2 separate regions of the Homo sapiens genome follow, and region 1 is linked to region 2. Evidence: promoter capture Hi-C in human tissues and cell types (Jung and others, 2019). All regions are on one chromosome and are shown on one strand. The core of a region is centred on a gene start or on the middle of the fragment in contact, and the rest is flanking DNA. Distances in the headings are between cores, read along the strand shown. Region 1 overlaps LACC1 (laccase domain containing 1). Region 2 holds the start of SERP2 (stress associated endoplasmic reticulum protein family member 2).

Region 1 (4,151 bases), core at 192-2,691, 490 kb after region 2:
AGTTATCCTCTCACTTGTAGTTCATCCACCTCCTTTCTATTTGATTTTTCTATGCCTATCTATATATACATATCTAGTTAAAAGATCTTTATTAAATTAGTCCCATAGAAGAATTTTATTCTTTTTGATATCTGATAAAAGTAGTATACAATGTAGCTAATTATATTATATTTTAAAGTTAATTTATTTTTATTCTTCCAACTTTTTAGGTTCGGGGTACATATATGCAGGTTTGTTACATGGGTAAATTGCATGTCACTGGGGTTTCGTGTACAAACGATTTCATCACCCAAGTAGTGGACATAGTACCGAACAGACAGTTCTTCAGTCGTCACCCTCCTCCCACCCACCACCCTTAAGTAAGCCCCCATGTCCATTGTCCCTTTTTTTGTGTCCATGTGTACTCAATGTGTAGCTCCCACTTAAAGGATACATATGGTATCTGATTTTCTGTTCCTGCATTAATTCATTTAGGATGGCTTCCAGCTGCATCTATGTTGCTGTAAGGATATGATTTCATTCTTTTTTATGGCTTTATAGTATTCCATTATGTATATGTACCATATTTTCTTTATCCAGTCCACCACTGATGGGCATCTAAGTTGATTCCATGTCTTCATTATTGTGAAAAGTGCTGTGATGAACATACGTGTGCATGTGTCTTTATGGCAGAATAATTTATATTCCTTTGGGTATATACCCAGTAATGGGATTGCTGGGTTGAATGGTAGTTCTAATTTTAAGTTCTTTGAGAAATATACAAACTGCTTTCCACAGTGGCTGAACTAATTTACATTCCCACTAGCAGTGTGTAAGCATTTCCTTTTCTCCACAATCTCACCAACATCTGTTGTTTTTTGACTTTTTTTATAACAGCCATTCTGACTGGTATGAAATGGTATCTCATTGTAGTTGTGATTTGCATTTCTCTAATGATTAGTAATATCAAGCGTTTTTTCATATGCTTGTTGACCACGTGTAAGTCTTCTTTTGAGAAGCGTTTGTTCATGTCCTTTGCCCATTTTTTAATGGGATTGATTGTTATTTGTTTGTTGATTTAAGTTCCTTATAGAGTCTCGGTGTTAGACCTTTTCAGCTGCATAGTTTGCAAATATTTTCTCCAATTCTGTAGGTTTTCTGTTTACTCTGTTGATAGTTTCTTTTGCTGTGCAGAAGCTCCTTAGTTTAATTGGGTCCCACTTGACTATTTTTGTTTTTGTTTGCTCTTGAAGTCTTCACCATGAAATCTTTGCCAAGGCCTATGCCTATGTCCAGAATGGCATTTCCTAGGTTTCCTCCTAGGGTTTTAATAGTTTTAGGCTATATGTTTAAGTCTTTAACCCATGTTGAGTTAGTTTTTGTATATGGTGAAAGGAAGGGATCTAGTATCAATTTCCTACATATGGCTAGCCAGTTATGCCAGCACCATTTATGGAACAGGGATTCCTTTCCTCATTGCTTGTTATTGTCGACTTTGTCAAAGATCAGATGGTTGTAGGTGTGTGGCTTTATTTCTAGGTTCTCTATCCTGTTCTATTGGCCTATGTGTCAGTTTTGGTACCAGTACCATGCTGTTTTGGTAACTGTAACTTTGGAGTACAGCTTGAAGGGAGGCAATATGACTCCTCCAGCTTTATTCTTTTTGCTTAGGATAGCTTTGGCTATTTGGGCTCTTTTTTGGTTCCATGTGAATTTTAAAATAGTTTTTTCTAAATCTGTGAAAAATGACATTGGTAGTTTGATAGGAGTAGCATTGAATCTATAAATTGCTTTGGGCAGTGTGGCCATTTTAACAATATTGATTCTTCCTATCCATGAGCATGGAATGTTTTTCCATTTGTTTATATTATCTCTGCTTTCTTTCAGCAGTGTTTTGTACTTCTCATTGTAGAGACCTTTAATCTCCTTGGTTAAGGTAACTGTATTCCTAGGTATTTTATTCTTTCAAAATTAACTTATTAATGACTTGAAATTCACATTTATAACTTCATTTTGACTGCTTGATCTTGGATATGTTTAAACTAAATGTTTTCGAACCTAAGAAGTAAAAAAATAATATCCTCTTTTTATATCCAGGAGCCAAGACTCAAATTTTAAATAACTTTTTGACAATGTCATGTAGTAAACCTGACTTCTACTCATTCAATCCCATTATTTCAGCTAGGTCAAAATAAAAATATGCTACTTTCTTTTTTACCTATGAGCTAAAAAGCAAAGTAGCCATAGATTTACAAGTAGAAGGAAATTTTAAAGATCATCCCTCATTTCACACAAAATCACAGCTATGGGGTAATCTAAAATACTATTTTAAAATACCTTCAGAAAACAAAATTCCATATCCTTAACACAATATACCTTCTAAAAATACTTCTTTGCTCTCAGAGAATAGTTACAGTTAAATACATTAAGTGATGTAAACTAAAAACAGTTTTCAAAACATCTTGCTTTTTCCTACCTCCCTAGCTTTACACATGCAGCTCCATCTGGGTGAACACTTCTCTGCAACATGCCTAACATTCCTATTTCCTATGGCCTGGATTTCAAGGATTCTCAACCAGAGGCAGTACCACTCCCCTAGGGAGTGTTTTGAAAAGCTTGGAGGGTTTCGTTGTTGTTTGATTGGTTGGTTGGTTGGTCTTGGTTATTACAGTAACTAGAGGTGCTACTGTCATTAAGGATTTCAGGGGCTAAAGACACTTAATCTGCAATGTGGGATTATCCTGCCCAAAATGTTAATAGCACCCTTGCTAAGGAACACTGTTACCCAGCCAAAACCAACAAATTCCTCAGGAATCAACCTAGGTGCCACCTCCTTTGGGAATTCTACTATAATTCATATAATTTGATGCAGATACTCCTCTTAGCTGTCCCTATAATAAAACTATGCCGCCTCTCCCATCATTACACTTACCACAGTGTAATGTAATTAACTGTTTGCCATGTCCATCAGAAAGAAATTACAATTTTTCCTGCACAACAAAATGAGTAAAATTCTAAATGTTTAATTAAGTATACTTACCAGCGTGAGCAACCCCACATGCTTTTTTGACTGGATCTGCAAAAACTATCGGTATACAGTCTGCACCAAGAGCTGCTATTGTGACTCCTCTCTGATTTGTGGTTATTCCATCATAAGAGTCAGGCTCCTTTCTTCCCATAATCCAGATGTCATTGGAATGATGAGTCTAATACCAAAAATGTGCAACAAAAATGTTTTGGAAATAGTATTTCTTATACCATAAGCTTTCTCGAAGGTACTCATTGTAGTATAAAATTATATAACCAGTTTAAGATTACTAGCATTCATTAAATATATCACTTTTATATATGGGAAAACACAAAATTTACTTATAATTTAACTATTTAAGATTTTAGATTATAATCTCTGATAGTTTATGCAAAGAAAAGCAGAGTTTAACATTATAAAATTCAATATAGTGAATAATGAACATCTTTCCATAAAGATAGGTATATCATTTCTTATAGCACTTTCTACAAAATGAAAATTTTTCTTGTAAAGGAAAGTTAATTAACAAATCAATGATACTTTTACTTTTCCAAGACTCAAGTAAAGCTAGAATTCTGTAAGGAACAAGACATTATCTCATCAACTATGACCCTAGTTCCTCCTGGAGTAGATTTATAAAATAATGGCCTTTCTCTACCACCATTCAGTTCCCTTTCTTCTAAATCAAAAAGAGCAGTGGTAGTATACTCTCTGAGAATTAACTGTACTTTTAGAATTGAGGACTCCAGATGAAATATACAGTAGGCTCTTGAATAATGTCATTTTATTCCACATCATTTCATTATAATGTTAATGAAAAAAATTGATTACCCACCCGGTCACTGACTGTGTGAGGTTTGCACCTTCTCCTCACGTCCACATGGGTTTTCTCTGGGTACTCCAGCTTCCTCCCACATCCCAAAGAAGTGCATGTTAGATGAATTGGGGTGTCTACATGGTCCCAGCATGAGTACGTGTGTGTGTGTGTAAGGGCACCCTGCAATGGAATGGTGTCCTGTCGAGGGTGGGTTGTGGCCTTGCATCCTGATCTGCCAGAATAGACTCCAGCTACCTAAAGCCCTGAACCGAAATAATTTGGTAGTTATCTTATTTGTCTTTCTTACTGTTTTGTAAATATATGTCT
Region 2 (4,302 bases), core at 163-2,662:
TGCTTAGTTAATCAAACCAATATAGTTTCTTTGGCTAAAAGGAATTGATTCATCAAATCTGCAAGCTTTCCCAGCCAAACTCCAGGCTTCAGCTGGATTTCCACTTAACTGTACGGGGTAACAGATCCCAGGCGCCTTTGCTCATATACTTGGAGACCAACTTCGCCAAACTACCCATGCGACTCATGCCTCTGAATGTCCAAAGTCACAGGCCTCGCATTTTCTGTTGATGATAATCTGCTTTGCTAAAAGAAACTCCTGAGTGTAAGGCACAGGTTTTACTTAAAAGTCCAGTTGCAAAGCTTGAATTTACAGTTCTAGGGACACCGAATGCCTGACAATAAACTGGTCTCTAAAGTTATACCATGAGAATGAGTCTGAATTCACCAAGTGGAAAGAATAGGAATGCTGCCCTTAGACTTTAGCCTAGGGGCTGAGGGAGGTCTCGCTGGAAGAGAGGTAAAAGAGAAAAAAGAGGCTGGAGGGAATGTGGGTCCAAATCTCACTCCCCATTTTGAGCTCTTTCCACACCTCCAGTGAAACCGTCACAAAGGGGCTGGAAAGAAAACTTGATCCTGGTGCAAGTCTGTTGGGGAGGGAAGACAGGTGGAGTCCGGGAGGAGATGACAAGTGGCCTCCATTTAGCCATTGATTCATTCATTCATTCAACAAACGTTCTAGAACATACTAGGTTCCAGGCTCTGTGTCATGCAACGTTCTAGAACATACTAGGTTCCAGGCTCTGTGTCATGCAGTTGACTTAACTGGCCCCTAAGGATGAGGCTTTCCGTCTTTCTCCGGGACAAGGCCCAGCTGTCTCCCGGGCAGGGGGACAGGGGGTGCGGGTCGGGGAGGAGGGCTCCTCTGCGCCTCCCTGGTAGCCCAGGTAGCCACTCCCAGAGGGGCCACGACCAACCAGGGCCCTCTCCGCCCACGAGGACGCCAAGCAGACCGCGCCGCCCTGAACCCAGCTCTCAGCCCCCACTCTGCAGGACCCCGCAGAAGGGGCGGGCCGGGAGCCGGGAGGCCGGACCCTGCGCCGCTACCCGCCCGGCCCCGCCCCCACCTTCCGCCCCACCCCGCCGGGCTGCAGGGCTCTGCCTGGCCGGCGCCGACCCCGCCTTACCAGGGTTTTGGCTACGTTCCCCCTCTGGGTGATGTTTTTGCTGTGCTTCTCGTTAGCCATCCGGATCCGCTGTTTGGCCACCATGGCTTGTGCGCTCTGAAATGCTCCCACCTGCAAGGATTCCCCCTGCGTTAGCTCCTGCGACAGGGCCGAGCGCGTCCCGCCGAGGCCCCCGCGGCCCACCCGGGCGCTGCAGGTGGCAAGGCGTGGCCCCGAGCCCTGCGCACCCCGCTCCCCGAGCCCCGGCTAGCCGACTCCAGAGAGAGGCCGCAGCCCGGACGGAAGTAATCTCTCATCTCAGGAAACCCTTTCCGACTTCCTCGCCATCCTTCCGGTCCCCGCAGCCACCTACCCCGCGCGGCCACCGAGGCAGGCGCGACCGCACGTCCTCCCGCGCCGAGCGGCCGGAGCGCAGCGCGCAGAGCCGGGGCCCTGCAGTGTCGCGGTCCTGTAGCCGAATGCTGCGGGGCCGAAGGTTCGGGCGACCACGGCGTTTGTGAGCGCGTCGGGGACGGGGACGCGGCCCCTCCTGTGTTTGTCGGCCGGTGACCCACCCCAGCCCCGGGGAAGGGATGAGGGCGGCCGCGCTTCAGGCCGGGCCGCGCGGTCTCCCCTGCACCGCCGCCCCCTGGACGAGGGCTGGACCCAAGGCGGTGGTCAGGGACCTCAGAACACAAGTAGAACCAGTCCAGGCCCGGGCCCGCGCTGCCCGGGTATGGTCCACCAAACGAGCCTTCTCTTTAAGGGTCTCGAGAAGGGCCCCACGCTGGGGGACCCCACTGCAGAACTTTTCGTGAGGGCTGCAAGGAGGGCCGCGTTGTAAAATAAAGAGGAGACACGAAGCGGCATCCCCTGAGGGTTGGGGATCGGGCCGTGAGGATGGAGTTGGGACAGGCCTTTTTGCTTTGGTAGTTGTAGGGGTTGCATTGGAAGATGGGCCAGCGGCAGAGCGGAGCATGCAGGAAAGAGGAAGAGGCCTTGGACCTGCAGCCCAGGTCGGATTTGGTGGTTACTGTCTAAATCTGAAGCTTTGGCCTGCCTTGACTCCCCACCCACCCAGGGCAGCTTGGACCTCTCTCTAGCCACCCTTGTCCCGAGGGGTCTGAGTGTCTCCCAGACTAAACTGGGCATTTTCTGCAGTGGAAGGATAAAAATGGAAGCGTTTACGCGCCTCCCAGACACTGGTATTAGGGCTCAAGAGCTCTACAGATTGCCTGGGGAGGTAGGGGTGGAAGGGGTTCAGTTCCTCACTTGGAGTTAGCTCTTAGAAGCTCAGAAGAGTGGAGGCGAAGAGGGGACATTCAGCCTGGGAGATCTGGGGCAGCGGGAAGTGGGGATACCGGGTCGGGGTGAAGGCAAGCAGCAGCACCCCCAGCATGGGGAAGAAGGCCTGAGGCTGTCTCTGGCCACTGCATCTCTAGGCCTTCTCTTGGAGCGGGAGGTGGCTGGGTTTCCAGGGAATTTTGTGTGAGTAAAATTTTCCCATGTCATTGGAGAGTTAGGAAGAGCTCCTCTTTTGGGGCCTTTTTCCAAGCGGGTCCCCCTCACCCCGCTACAGGCTTCTTGTCACTCAGGCTTCAATAAAGGCCATTCTGGGGGCTGCTTGCTGTAACCTAGAAGACAGAATTGCCTAGGATCATTAGTAGAGTCATTTTTTTTTTTTCCTACTCTACAGGCCAATTAATTTGAAACAAGCTTCTATGGTCTTTTAACTGTTAGCATCACCACTGTTGTAACAGGACCATAAACCCAGTCTGCCCCACTCTAGTCCCATGTTTTTAATAACTGTTGGCTCTTTTTTAGGGGTTTGGGTGGGGGGATTCCTACCTCAGTGATCCCTGCTGAGCCTGGCTGTTGTCTGTGGTCCAGAAGGTTCCTTTACCTGACTCACTCCTCTCAGATCATGTCCAAATACCAGGAGACTGACCCAGGTCCTCACCAGGTGAGTAGAGGTCTGGCTCTGAGCGACATTAAGGAAAAGACACAGACAGAGACTGTTTTCTCTTTGGGTCTTCACATTCAGTGAGTACAGTTCAGAAGTGTTCTTAACTGAGAGAAGCCCCTTTTGGGGAAAATTTTTCTTTACTGTTGACTCCTTTTTCCTGCTATGCTTCACTTTTCCGGCATTTTAAATTAGTTTGTTTTAATTATGAGTAGACTACATCTACACAGTAAATAGTCAAACAGAAATAGGATAGAAAATGAAAAGTAAAGGTCTCTCTTTCCTTGCCACCCTCCCCAAAAAGTTCCCACGGTTCCTGGGTTGCCCTTCCAGTATATACAAGACTATTTGTATATTCCCTTCTAAAAAAAAACGGAATAGTAGTATGCAAACTGTTCTGCCACGTGCTCTTCTAACTTAATATATCAACATTATCATATCACTTATATATGACCTCTTTCTTGTAGTTGTGTTATGTCTCATAGTATGATTATACAGTAATATATTGAACTGATGTAACCATGGATGATTATTTCCAGTTTTTCTTTTTTTGTGGTTGCCAACAATGCTTCAGTGAATATCCCTGTACATAGATCAGTGTGTACTTGTGCAGGTATATCTGCGTGTGATATTGTGAAATATATATTTGATTGTAGTCCCTGTTTCCTGACCTAAAACTCTTAAATTCCTTGGACTCTCCAGAGTGATGAAAATATCTTACCTTTTGTATGCTAATGAGATGGTTGGTGACTTGGAGACCCTAGATAGCTTCAGGATGGGGACTGGTCACCAGAAAGATCAAGGCAGGATTAGAGGGTTGGGACTTTTAGTCCCACCCTGTCCCCCCAGACCTCCACAGAGAGGAGAGGGGCTGAAAGTTAAGTTGATCACCAGTGACCAATGATGTAATCAATCAGACATATGCAATGAAGCCTGTATAAAAGCCCAAAGGATAGGGTTTGTTGAGTTCTGGAGAGCAGAACATCAGGTTCCTAGAGGGTGGCGTGCTCAGAGAGGATATGGAAGCGCCACAGCCCTTCCCACATTTCTTGCCCTGTGCATCTCTTCCATCTCACTGTTCATCTATATGCTTTGTAATATCCTTCCTCATAAATGAGCAAACAGAAGTAAAGTGTTTCACTGAGTTCTGTGATCCACTCTAGCAGATTAGTCCAAACAAGGAGTGGGTTGGGGGAACTCCAGTTTATAGCTGGGCAGGCAGAGGTACAGGAGA

Evidence for each region. Contacts are between HindIII fragments. The study calls those that stand out against the background at their distance.
Region 1: a fragment that was not itself captured here is called in contact with the fragment with the promoter of SERP2 in region 2 in 3 of the 25 tissues and cell types used here (H1 embryonic stem cells, dorsolateral prefrontal cortex and mesendoderm cells).

The regions. Positions count from the first base shown.
Region 1 is chr13:43,882,805-43,886,955 of GRCh38, reverse strand. It overlaps LACC1 (laccase domain containing 1), which reads right to left. Exons shown (of 7, transcript NM_153218.4): 4 at 3,020-3,185. Among named protein-coding and RNA genes, the nearest start is that of LACC1, 5.0 kb to the right of the region's middle. The HindIII fragment of the contact is 5,982 bases long and covers 1-4,151 here.
Region 2 is chr13:44,370,934-44,375,235 of GRCh38, reverse strand. It overlaps SERP2 (stress associated endoplasmic reticulum protein family member 2), which reads right to left and starts at 1,412. Exons shown (of 3, transcript NM_001010897.3): 1 at 1,127-1,412. The coding sequence starts at 1,210. It overlaps LOC105370297 (a long non-coding RNA gene), which reads left to right and starts at 1,670. Exons shown (of 2, transcript XR_001749858.3): 1 at 1,670-1,839; 2 at 2,039-4,302. The HindIII fragment of the contact is 4,304 bases long and covers 1-2,488 here.